Regions from separate parts of the Homo sapiens genome. Here regions 2, 3 and 4 are each linked to region 1. Evidence: promoter capture Hi-C in 16 types of primary human blood cells and fetal thymus (Javierre and others, 2016). All regions are on one chromosome and are shown on one strand. Each heading gives the region's core, a stretch centred on a gene start or on the middle of the fragment in contact. The rest is flanking DNA. Distances are from core to core; before and after follow the strand shown. Region 1 holds the start of SERINC1 (serine incorporator 1). Region 2 has its middle 34 kb from the start of FABP7. Region 3 overlaps SMPDL3A (sphingomyelin phosphodiesterase acid like 3A). Region 4 has its middle 46 kb from the start of SMPDL3A.

Region 1 (3,186 bases), core at 537-3,036:
ATACTGTCGTGTCCAATTAATGTTGTATATATAATAACTTAAGTGAGCAAATTCCACTCCACATAGCCTACAGGTTAAATAAAAGTAAATTTTTTTTAATGTATTTCAAGGCCAAGTGTTACATTCCAGAAAGATTAATATGACTTTTGTATTTAACTCTGAATATCTCAGGTGAAAAAACTCTATTGAATAGTGCAAGAACTTATGAATATCTCAGAAACCCTCTTAAATGGAGCAAGAGACAAGAATCTGTGCAAATTTAAATTTTAAGAGACCCATTCTCCATTTGGCTAATAAACATATTCTTTACGACCTTAAAGTTACTCACATATAAGTGTTTTTTGTCTCCTTCTCTGGTACTTTGAAAAGTTTAAGGACTTGAGATACTAGGATTCTCTTCTCCCATAAATAACGTATTAAGTTTAGCATAATTAAAAATATTGTTAGGTTTGTAATTTCCATTTCCACTATTCTTTTTTTTTGAGACGGAGTCTCGCTCTGCAGCCCAGGCTGGAGTGCAGTGGCCCAATCTCGGCTCACTGCAACCTCTGCCTCCCGGGTTCAAGCAGTTCTCCTGCCTCGCCTCCCGAGTAGCTGGGATTACATGCGCGTGCCACCATGCCCGGCTAATTTTTTGTATTTTTAGTAGAGATGGGGTTTCACCATGCTGGCCAGGCTGGTCTTGAACTCCTGGCCTTGTGACCCGCCTGCCTCAGCCTCCCAAAGTTCTGGGATTACAAGCATTTCCACAATTCTTTAAACCTTATGGATGCTCTATTATAATACTTTGCTTTAAGAGTGGTCTACAAAACCACAGATAAGGCAAAGAAGAATAAAGCAAGATTGTCCCTTAGTGGTTACAATAACTAGGAGTAGGGATTCTGACATTCTTCCAGATTCTTAGGTGTTTACCCCACCTCGACCCATGCAATTTTTGTAGATTTTACAACACTTTCTTATTATTAGTTATGGGAATGACTATTTCAAGTTTGAGCTGTTTCCCAGAATATTTTCAAGAACAAATAACTCTAAAAAAATAACTGGAACTTTTATAGGAATGCATTCCCTGCAGATGTGCATCATCACCTAATATGCAAGGGTTCCACATGCCTCAACAGCTCATGACATTCGAAATCAATGTTTGAGTTTGATAATGTCTTATCTAACTAATTAAAAATAATTTTAACGTGCAAATTTCTTGTAACATCTTAATAGCATAAGAAATTAAAATATAAGTCAATAGCAAACAGAAATGATACAGAGAAACTGAAGCACACAGATGAATATAAATATCCCAATAAAACTTGTTCCGGGCAGCGGGCTGCAGGAATACGTTGCAAACGCAAGAGCAAAACAGGATGCAAACGTGGGAAAAATGGGAAATAAGTGGAGTTAGGACGGACAAAGACTGAGAAAGAGGAAGCAATCCCCTAAAAAGCAGAGAGGTTCCTCAGATGAAGGAGGGCAAAACGTCAACCACCACCTCAGCTCTGTTCTCTACTAATGCCCAAATGCAAGTGCATGGTAGGTAAAGGTGGGTTTTGCTCACACCGTTTTCTTAATTTGGCAAACTACGGTCAGATCCACATTAGCCGTTAAGTTTCCAGCCAGCAGTCCTTGAGAAATTCTCCAGGAAAGAAGACAGCCGTGTCGTCTAGTGACGCGCATGCGCAGTCTCAGCGCTGCGCGCTCCGTGTTTTATCCTACCCAGGCCTGGAAGGAAGTGACGCGAGGCTGAGGGGCGGGTTGCGCTGTGCGTCCGGAAGTGTCTCGCAGATAGTAAATAATCTCGGAAAGGCGAGAAAGAAGCTGTCTCCATCTTGTCTGTATCCGCTGCTCTTGTGACGTTGTGGAGATGGGGAGCGTCCTGGGGCTGTGCTCCATGGCGAGCTGGGTAAGGTGCTTTTTGCGGCCTCTGGGGTGCTAGTGTGAGAGACCAAAGAGAAGGCGATCCGAGCCGGGGCTGGGTGAGCCCGGCGGGAATGTGGTGCCCCACCCAACAGGGAGTGCCCTCTCTGTCCCCGTTTTCTTCCCGTCTCCTCTCGTCACTCAGACTCAGCTTCAGAGCTTTGGGTCTTGCGAAGAACTGATCACTGGCCGTAAGGTTTAGTGGCGATGGGAAGATGACTCAAATTGAGGAAGAGAACTAGAATAGGGCCCCTCCCCCACCCCTGCTTCGTGAACGCTGTCTCCCATTCTTTGAGGTCCCTTTTCGTGGTTTTGTTTGTATCTGCGCAGGCCATCTCTACAAAGGTCTTTGCCCCTTTCCTTCGGTGGGGTACCCACTCTGTTGTCATCTCTTTCCTGGCGACCTCAGACTGCCGCACTGTCGTTCCTGGATTCATGTCGCCCTCTTTGTTCAGTGGCGCAGATTATGATTAAAAAGTGCCTGTCGTCATTTGGAACCGCCTGGCAGTAATGCTAATGTAGTAATATTGTTTTTGAAACAAATAGTCATAGCTCTGCCGTAACTGTTTGAAGTGTCAATTTCAGATTTCAACTTAAAATTGAAATTTCAGATGACACACGCATGCCTTGTGCCTAATGACAATTTTGTCTTTAGGCACAAAACATGCGTGTGTCATCTGAAATTTCATGCTTAATTAGCTGTACATTGCATTTTCATTAAAGAGTTGTTAGAGTAAAACTATTTTCAGTATAGTGGCAAGACTTTGGTCCGTGTGGCACAAATTTCAGTTTATTTAAGATAATCTCTGCCCCCTCCAAAATAGTAGGCAAAACATTGGCAGTGCAGTTAATAAAGATATTTGTAATTTTAGGCGAGGTATTTGGACTCAAATCACTTTTCTTTAGTCTGGAATTTGTTAATTCTGTTTCTAACAATTGCTTTTCTGACTTCCCAAATGATTCCGTTATATATACTCTTAAAGGTTTTGATATGTCTTGAACTAAAAATGTTGAATTTTAATCAAATAATAATGTGGGGATTGTTACTCCAGCCAGTCTGTTCTTTTGATTATATGGTATTTCTTCTTGCACGGAAGCCTGGAATATTTTATCTCAAGATATTAGAGAGTTTAATTATTGACTTTTATACAAAAGAGGCATATTTAGTGTGATAAACAGTTTTGAAAACTGATAATTGATTATCATATAAGATTGTTTTCATCGGTTTTTTATTGGAAGATGTTATGCAATTCAATTTGTAATGTCGTATCTTGTCCA
Region 2 (2,839 bases), core at 142-2,641, 270 kb before region 1:
TGAGGGAGCTTTGTTCAATCTGGCTGAAGGGCTACTGGACTGAAGGGGACCGGGCTCAAGCACCACCAAGGAGCCCATGGTCAGGATTACAATTAGGGGCAAGGACATTAAATTTTTGGTCGATACTGGTGCTGAACATTCAGTAGTGACAACCCTGGTCGCCCCCTTATCCAAGAAAACCATTGATATAATCAGAGCAACAGGAGTTTCCACTAAGCAGGCTTTCTGTCTACCACGGACCTGCTTGGTGTGGGGACATAAGATAGTTCACCAGTTCTTGTACATGCCTGACTGTCCTTTGCTATTGCTGGGAAGAGTCCTGCTTAGCAAGCTGAGAGCCACCATCTGCTTTACAAAACAGGGCTCTTTACAGCTAAAGTTACCGGGAACAGGAGTTATCAAGGCCCTTACGGTCCCCCGGGAAGAAGAATGGAGACTTTTTCTAACCAAGCCAGGCCAAGAGATAAAATCAGCTCTAGCTAAGCAATGGCCCCGAGTATGGGCAGAGGATAATCCTCCAGGACTGGTGGTCAACCAAGCCCCCATACTCATAGAAGTTAAGCCTGGGGCACAACCAATTAGACAAAAGCAGTATCCAGTTCCCAGAGAAGCTCTTAAAGGAATCCAGGTTCATCTCAGGCACTTCAAAGCCTATGGAATTATAGTTCTTTGCTAGTCTCCATGGCACACCCCCCTCCTGCCTGTGCCTAAGCCAGGGACCAAGGACTACCAGCCAGTACAGGACTTATGCTTGGTCAACCAAGCTACAGTGACTCTGCACCCAACAGTTCCTAACCCTTACACATTATTAGGGCTGCTGCTAGCTGAGGACAGCTGGTTTACCTGTCTGGACTTAAAATATGCCTTCTTTTGCATCAGACTAGCTCCTGAGAGCCAGAAGCTGTTTGCCTTTCAGTGGGAAGATCCGGAGTCACGTGTCACTACTCAGTACACTTGGACCCGGCTTCCCCAAAGGTTCAAGAACTCCCCTACTATCTTTGGGGAGGCCCTGGCTCGAGACCTGCAAAAGCTTCCTGCTAAAGACTTAGGCTGCATCTTGCTCCTGTACGTGGACAACCTTCTGCTGGGACACTCCACAGCAGTCAGGTGTGCTAAAGGGACGGATGCCCTGCTTTGGCACCTGGAGGACTGTGGGTATAAGGTGTCCAAGAAGAAAGCTCAGATCTGCTGACAGCACAGGCACGATCCCACTACTGATCAGCACGGGAGTTTTGACCTGCTCAATTTCCGACCTGGGCCGGTCCACCCCTCCTTAGGCAACCTGCTGTTCCCCCGCTTCCGGGAGGTCACCATATTGATGCTGAACTTAGTGCAGACACCCAATTGGCATAGCGCACTACAGCTGATTCAGAAGCTCGAAAAGCAGCATCTACCTCTTACCGGGCATCAGTAGCAGCCCCCTTACTCCCTCAAACACCTGACCTGGTACCTACCTATTCTAAGGAAGAAAAAGACTTCTTCCACACAGAAGAGGGGCAAGTAATAAAAGGAGGATGGATCAGACTGCCAGGTGGAAGAGTAGCTGTGCTGCAGTTGCTAGGAGCCATAATCATATTGGCCATGCACAAAACCACTCATCTAGGACAAGAGTCACTTGAAAAATTGTTAGGCCGGTACTTCTACATCTCACTCTTGCCAGCCCTTGCCAAAGCAGTAGCACAACAGTGCATTACTTGCCGACAGCACAATAAGAGGCAAGGCCCCACTGTTCCACCTGGCATACAAGCTTATGGAGCGGCTCCTTTTGAGGATCTTCAGGTGGATTTCACAGAAATGCTGAAATGTGGAGGTAACAAGTATTTGCTGGTTCTTGTGTGTACTTACTCTGGGTGGGTAGAGGCTTATCCAACACGAACTGAAAAGGCCTACGAGGTAACCCGTGTGCTTCTCCGAGATCTTATTCCTAGGTTTGGACTGCCCTTATGAATCGGCTCAGATAACAGGCCAGCATTTGTGGCTGACTTGGTACAGAAGACAGCAAAGGCATTAGGAATCACTTGGAAGCTACATGCCGCCTACCGACCTCAGAGTTCCAGAAAGGTGGAGCGAATGAATCAGACTATCAAAAATAGTTTAAGGAAAGTATGTCATGAAACAGGATTAAAGCGGATACAGGCCCTTCCTATGGTATTGTTTAAAATTAGATGCACTCCTTCTAAGAAAATAGAATACTCCCCTTATGAAATGCTGTATCATAGGCCTCCTCCAATACTACAGGAGCTTCCAGGCACTCCCCAAGAGTTAGGTAAAATTGAATTACAGCGACAGCTACAGGCTTTAGGAAAAATTACACAAACAATCTCAACTTGGGTAAATGAGAGGTGTCCCATCAGCTTATTCTCCCCAGTTCACCCTTACTCTCCAGGTGATGGCGTGTGGATCAAGGACTGGAACGTAGCCCCTTTGCGGCCACGGTGGAAAGGACCTCAGACCGTCATCCTGACCACCCCCACGGCTGTAAAGGTAGAAGGAATCCCAGCCTGGATCCACCACAGCCGTGTGAAACCTTTCAGCCACTGAAACCTGGGAGGCAAAACAGAGCCTGGACAACCCCTGCAAAGTGACTCTGAGGAGGACGACAAGCCCTGCTCCAGTCACACCCGGAAGCTGACTGGTCCACGCACAGCCGAAGCATGAGGAGAATCATCATGAGACTCATTTTCCTTATAATTTGGACTTGTATAGTAAAAACTTCCACTGATTTTCCCTGCATGGAGACTGCTCTCAGTGTATACATCAGGTTACCGAGGTAGGGCAGCAAGTTAAAACAGTCTTTCTGTTCTATAGTTACTATGAATGCCTAGGAACTTTAAAAGGA
Region 3 (3,070 bases), core at 449-2,948, 320 kb before region 1:
TCTATAAGACCCATTCCCATGCCCTATCACTAGCTAGTTATTGTCACAATTTTGACACTACTAATAGGAAAAATTCTTTAAGCATTTCTGAAAGTCTATCAAATTTACCTGTGGCCAATAGTCATGATTACCCAGCGCAGGGAAAACCTGGAGATTTGGAAAGAGACTCTGGATGGTGGTTGTCATATTAGTGATCACATTTATAACAGTGTCTGTTGAGAGTTCAGGTACAGGAACATGAGGTGGGCTATCCCTGAAAAAAGAGAGAGATTGTAAAGAACAAAATCAGTTTCATAAAGAGTTACTAGACTTATGCATGATGCGTTGCTATACCTATCACTGCAGACTTCCATTTTAAAACAGCAGATTACAGCTAAAGAGTTGATAGACTACTCTTCACTTACCTCTACCCTACAGATAATCCTATAAAAGAAAATTAACAAAATATAATACAAAAAATAAGCTGGAAATCCCAGCCTATTTCACTACCTGACTGAAGATTTATAAGAGGCTAAAAACTGCAATAATTAAAAGCAGATGCCAATTGAACCAGAGCCCAAATGCCTATTTCAAATCCCAGCTTTGCCAATTACTAGTTGTGTATACTCGTAAGTTACTTAGATGTTCAGTGCCTTCATTTCCTCATCTGTAAAATGGGAATAATAATATCCATTGTAAAAATTAAATAAGTTACAATGTATAAGTTAATTAAAACAGTGCCAAGCCCCAAGTAAATATTCTACAAGTATTAGCCATGGTCATTATTCCAGGTAAAGAAATATGGGCCTCTTCACCCTATAATGATGAAGGGAACCAGTTAGTTATACTGCCAGAAGATGATGCTTTACAAAATTGTCATGACAGGTAAACTTCCATTATTGCCTTTTGTCTTTGATAATTTCATGAAGACCTAATATCAACACCTCAAGATATTGATGCAAGTGTGCTGTTTATGGATTCATCTCTTAGTTAACACTGACATATTTCTGAAATCTGTATTCCAAAAAAAAACACTTCTAAAATTGTTCTTACCTCTAATAATGTTGATTAGTTTGACCTAGTGTTTTTTTAACTCAAATAACTCTTAAAATGTAACTAATCTTATTATGGAATTCAGCACTCTTATGAAGCTTAGGACACTGTAAATAAATATTGAGTAATTAATGGTACTTGTATAATCACTTACCCTGTCCATATCATGAAAGATGCTTCTTGTCCAGAATTTTTAATAAAATCAAATGCTGACAAAATAAGTTGATATGGAGAATCACACAGAACATCTCCAAAAGGGCCAGGGTTGGAGGCATTTGCACCTTTAGATGAAGCACACACTTTTGTGTGGTCATCTGTGATGTGGTAAGTAGGGTCTAAGTGTAAGTCAGTCACATGCCAAAACTGTCCTGTTGATTACACAAAAAATGCAGATAAATCTACTTGTTCTCTTTTGGAATTCTCATAAAAATATTTATATTAAGACTAGAGACGGTTGTTCCTCCCTGTGATGGAGGAAAGCCTTGGTAATTTAAATGTTCATAAGCCTCGAAGTTAAATACAGTCCTTCTCTGTGAGAAGATGAGCTTCAAGGAACTGTAGGAACAATTTACTACTTAAGTGTGTCAGAACTGATGAGCTCAGGCCGGGCGCGGTGGCTCATGCCTGTAATCTCAGCAATTTGGGAGGCTGAAGCAGGTGGATCCCTTGAGGTCAGGAGTTCGAGACCAACCTGGCCAACATGGTGAAACCCCATCTCTACCAAAAATATAAAAAATTAGCCAAGTGTGGTGGCACACGCCTGTAATCCCAGCTATTTGGGAAGCTGACGCAGGAGAATCACTTAAACCCGGGAGGTGGAGGTTGTGGTAAGCTGAGATCGTGCCACTGTACTCCAGCCTGGGCGACAGAGCAAGACTCCGTCTCAAAAAAAAAGAACCGATGAGCTCAGTATTAGTATCAGCATGATAACCTAACAAAGAATATTTAGCAAAGCTATGTTTCCATAATAAAATGTATGAAAATACCCTTCGGAGAGGCCAATGATGACATCATCTTGTGTCTTAATAGCATGTCTCCTTTAAGAGTTTAAGATTTTACAAATTATTTACATTCTTCTTGTAGAAAAATTGACGTATAAATATGATGTCGTTTGTTAGGGTTACACAGTGAGTAGGTAGACTGCAGAACCAGGAACTATATATCACTCTTACTTTCTTATAAACCTTGCCTCTCAACATTAATTCAAAGAACATAAATCTCTAATACAAGCTTTAAGCCAAAAATAGGAATTCCCAAAGCTTCTTAAAAGCTATTTAATAGAGGTACATCTTCTATCATATACTCATATAAAATGTTAATAAAATTAAGGGAAGCAGTTGTTAAAAAGGATGCTTCCATTGGGTTTTTAGGAAGCAGCCAAGCCCATTTGATAGCACCCTTACTTGGAAATCATCTTAAGAAAGTTTTTTTTTGTGTGTGTTTTTTTTGAGATGGAGTCTCACACTGTCTCCAGTGCTGGAGTGCAATGGCGTGATCTTGGCTCACTGCCACCTCCACCTCCCGGGTTCAAGCGATTCTTCTGCCTCAGCCTTCTGAGTAGCTGGGATTACAGGTGCACGCCACCACACCCAGCTAATTTTTTGTATTTTTAGTAGAGACGGGGTTTCACCATGTTAGCCAGGATGGTCTCGATTTCCTGACCTCGTGATGTGCCCGCCCCAGCCTCCTAAAGTGCTGGGATTACAGGCGTGAGCCACCACACCCGGCCAAGAAAGTTTCCTTTATTGAAGGTAATACTAGAACAAATAATCACAGTGGTATCTCTCTTTATTAAGTATTTTCTATGTGCCAGGCACTGTGATAAGCAATTTAAATATACTATGTCATTTGATTCTCAAAACTGCTCTCCGAACTGGGAATTATGGTCCTCATTTTAGAATTGAAAAACCAGTGCTGGGTCAAATAGAAAATTTGTTAAAGTATACACAGCTAATAAATCTGAACTCCCATACTGAAGGGCTTCCAAGTTTGTTTATACATCATTTATATATATATATATTCAATGATCCTTATAAAC
Region 4 (2,895 bases), core at 121-2,620, 360 kb before region 1:
GCTTGGGAGGGGAGCATGCACGGTGTGTTTACTGGAGTTGTACGCATGCTCACCTGAGGCATTCTTCCCTTTTGCCGTGGAATGGGCGCGGAAGGTCATATACCAGTTAAATTCCACCGTTTTGCCTCTTAGTGCACATGTGTGAGCCCACTTGCCCAGCTCCTAAGATCTCATCAGGAAGCTGCTGATCACCAGTTTCAGTTTTTTCCTGTCTATAGGGAAACTGCCTTTCCCTGGCACTGGCTGCGACCAATTATTATTTTAGAGGCAGTGTGACAACTGTCTGACCATCACCTGATGGTCACCCGACTTTTCTGATGGGGTGATGGGGGAGCCCTCTCTTGCCCCATTCATGCCTGACTAGCCACCTACTGTAACAAAGTCATGCAAGCCAGATCCCAGCTATATTCTAGTACCTGGGACTTCCTTTGCAGCACTTATCAAAACTGTAATTATTTAACGATTTGTATTTTTCTAATTATCTATCTGCACCACCTAGATAGATTTGTATTTTTCTAATTATCTATCTGCATCACCCTGCCTCACCTCACTTCCTTCAAGGTTGTATCCTTGGCAATGCTCACAATGCCTGTTCATAGCAGAGGCTCCGGGATAGTCTCATAGTCATCTTAAAATTCCTAGTACTTAGCACATATCATGTAAATGTAAGGTTTCTTGGATAAAGCTTTGGCTACTTTAGTCTGTCTATAGGATACTGCAGTAAACAAAAAACATTTCATGCTCTCATGAAAACATTCTAGTGCAAGATGGGGGAACAGAGGTAATAGATACAAATGTCATATGTATGAATAGTTAAGCAATTGTGATATCATATCAGACAGTGATAAGTGTGTGTACACAGACACCTCTACAATGTCAGGGGTCTGCTCTGGGAAACTGACAGCCAAGTACAGAGTTGAAAGAACTGTCCCCTGAAGAGCATAGAAGAGATTTCTAGGCACGGGAACAGCTCATGCGAAGGTCCTGCACAAGAGTTTGGCAGGTTCAAAAGGCCAGTGAGGCCAGAAGGAATTGAAGGAAGGCATGGCCATCCATCCATGCCATTCCGTTCAGTGAAAACCAAAGAAAAGTAGCTTGAACAACCCAAGAAGTCCAGTAATAGAACAATCATTTAATAACAAACATAAAGGAACCTGCCCTAACCGTGCAAACCCATAGTGTTCAACAGTCTTAGCTTCTGATTTTGCAACATTATGTAAAGCTTAGGGAAAGATTCTTTCTGTAATGCTAATTTAAGTATCAAGAGAAAAAATTGCTTAGACAGGATAGGTTCAACTGGGCAAGGACTCTTGAAAGGTAACTCATGCTTGTTCATTAATGCAATATTTAACAAATACTGAATGGCTTCTAGTGTCAGACATTGTTCTTAATAGTATTGGGGACACGACAGTGAACAACATAGAAAACAACACCTGTCCTCATGGAGCTTATATATTTGTTGTGGAGAGATAGCCAAAAATAAAAATAAAAATTTCACAAAGGACTAGATCAAGCTTGTCCAACCCATGGCCCATGGGCTGCATGCAGCCCAGGATGGCTTTGAATGTGGCTGAACACAAATTCATAAACTTTGTTAAAACATTATGAGATCTCTTCTGCAATTTTTTTAAGCTTATCAGCTATCATTAGTGTTACTGTATTTGATGTGTGGCCCAAGACAATTCTTCTTTTTCCAAGGTGGCCCAGAGAAGCCAAAAGATTGAACACCCCTGGATTAGATCATTTCAGCTGCAACAAGTACTAAAAAAGAAAAGTGCCAGAACTAACTTGGATAGTTGGATGCTTTCCTTTTAGCAAATAACCTGTCAGCCTATCAATCACTTAATAATAAGAGAGGTTCCCTTTATGTAATAGAATAATGGAATGATTTTTCTCCTTCATGTTTTCTGCATTTTCTAATTTTTTTACAGTGACAATGCTACTTTACTTATCAAATAAAAAATTTATTAAATAATACATAAAGATATTCTTGTTAACATTTCAGACATTAAAGACAAAGCTAAGGCTTCCTTTACCAAAGGAAAGGTGACAGGCATAAACTCACATAATCAATCAGCTTTGTTAAAAGTGACAAAGATTTGAAGTGTGTGATTCGGTGCCTCTGCTTCATAACTAGAATAAATTTTCTCAGAAAGTTATCTCTCTTCCCAGAAGAATAAGAAAACATACTTTATTATTTTTAACACAAATTCCTCCTTCCTTTATTTTTAACACAAATTCCTCTTTCCTTTAATTTGTGAAAAAAAAGTAGTATCAGGAGGGGTACCATTGTTAGCCCCATGTGATCAAACAAATAATCTGCAATTCTATTGTAGATAAGCAGCAAGAAATGCTTTTAGGGTTTGGTTCACATGTTACAGAGAAGTTAGTGGACCTCAGTAGAATGAGGCTCTTATTTTAAAAACCTTCTTGATCAGATGTTCAAACTGAGGGTCAAAACACTGTTGATTGCCATGAAACCTATTGTGAAAATGGGTTATCAACACCAACTAAAACTGCTTCCGCAAGGCATATGGAATCTCCATGGTACAGTCCTCAGAAACAACACTGGTAAAACCAATGTGCCACATTACTTTCAAATAAGCCTCCCCTGAACAATATGTGATATTGATGAGACATATGGGTACTAGCCTACTATGGTTTTAAAGCATATAGTCTCTTTTAAGCAATGAAGTCTGAGGGAGAATAACCAGAACATTAAGATAACAGAAGAAACATTCTAATTATGTTGATTAACCTTCCTCCCAACTGAAAGAAGTATTATTTTCTGCCACTGCTCTGTTAATGTACATACATATTTCTAGATAAAAATTAATATAACCACTACAAAAACCTAGGAGCAAGTTGGGGGCAGGGGGAAATCAATAAAGTACC

Evidence for each region. The method cuts DNA at HindIII sites, captures the fragments that hold promoters and counts their contacts. A CHiCAGO score of 5 or more calls a contact.
Region 2: a contact is called between a fragment that was not itself captured here and the fragment with the promoter of SERINC1 in region 1, in 1 of 17 cell types (monocytes). The highest score is 5.2, in monocytes.
Region 3: a fragment that was not itself captured here is called in contact with the fragment with the promoter of SERINC1 in region 1 in 1 of 17 cell types (monocytes); the score reaches 5.1 in monocytes.
Region 4: a contact is called between a fragment that was not itself captured here and the fragment with the promoter of SERINC1 in region 1, in 8 of 17 cell types (megakaryocytes, total B cells, naive B cells and 5 more). The highest score is 8.4, in megakaryocytes.

What each region holds. Positions count from the first base shown.
Region 1 is chr6:122,470,407-122,473,592 of GRCh38, reverse strand. It overlaps SERINC1 (serine incorporator 1), which reads left to right and starts at 1,786. Exons shown (of 10, transcript NM_020755.4): 1 at 1,786-1,894. The coding sequence starts at 1,856. It also overlaps a transcript of PKIB not described here. RefSeq lists enhancers at 1,627-1,686, 1,737-2,136. The HindIII fragment of the contact is 8,379 bases long and covers 1-3,186 here.
Region 2 is chr6:122,743,865-122,746,703 of GRCh38, reverse strand. It overlaps the pseudogene RN7SL564P. Among named protein-coding and RNA genes, the nearest start is that of FABP7, 34 kb to the left of the region's middle. The HindIII fragment of the contact is 717 bases long and covers 1,033-1,749 here.
Region 3 is chr6:122,794,007-122,797,076 of GRCh38, reverse strand. SMPDL3A (sphingomyelin phosphodiesterase acid like 3A) reads right to left here. Exons shown (of 8, transcript NM_006714.5): 2 at 1,187-1,400; 3 at 109-253. Among named protein-coding and RNA genes, the nearest start is that of SMPDL3A, 6.3 kb to the right of the region's middle. The HindIII fragment of the contact is 1,132 bases long and covers 1,133-2,264 here.
Region 4 is chr6:122,833,750-122,836,644 of GRCh38, reverse strand. No RefSeq gene overlaps it. Among named protein-coding and RNA genes, the nearest start is that of SMPDL3A, 46 kb to the right of the region's middle. The HindIII fragment of the contact is 292 bases long and covers 1,225-1,516 here.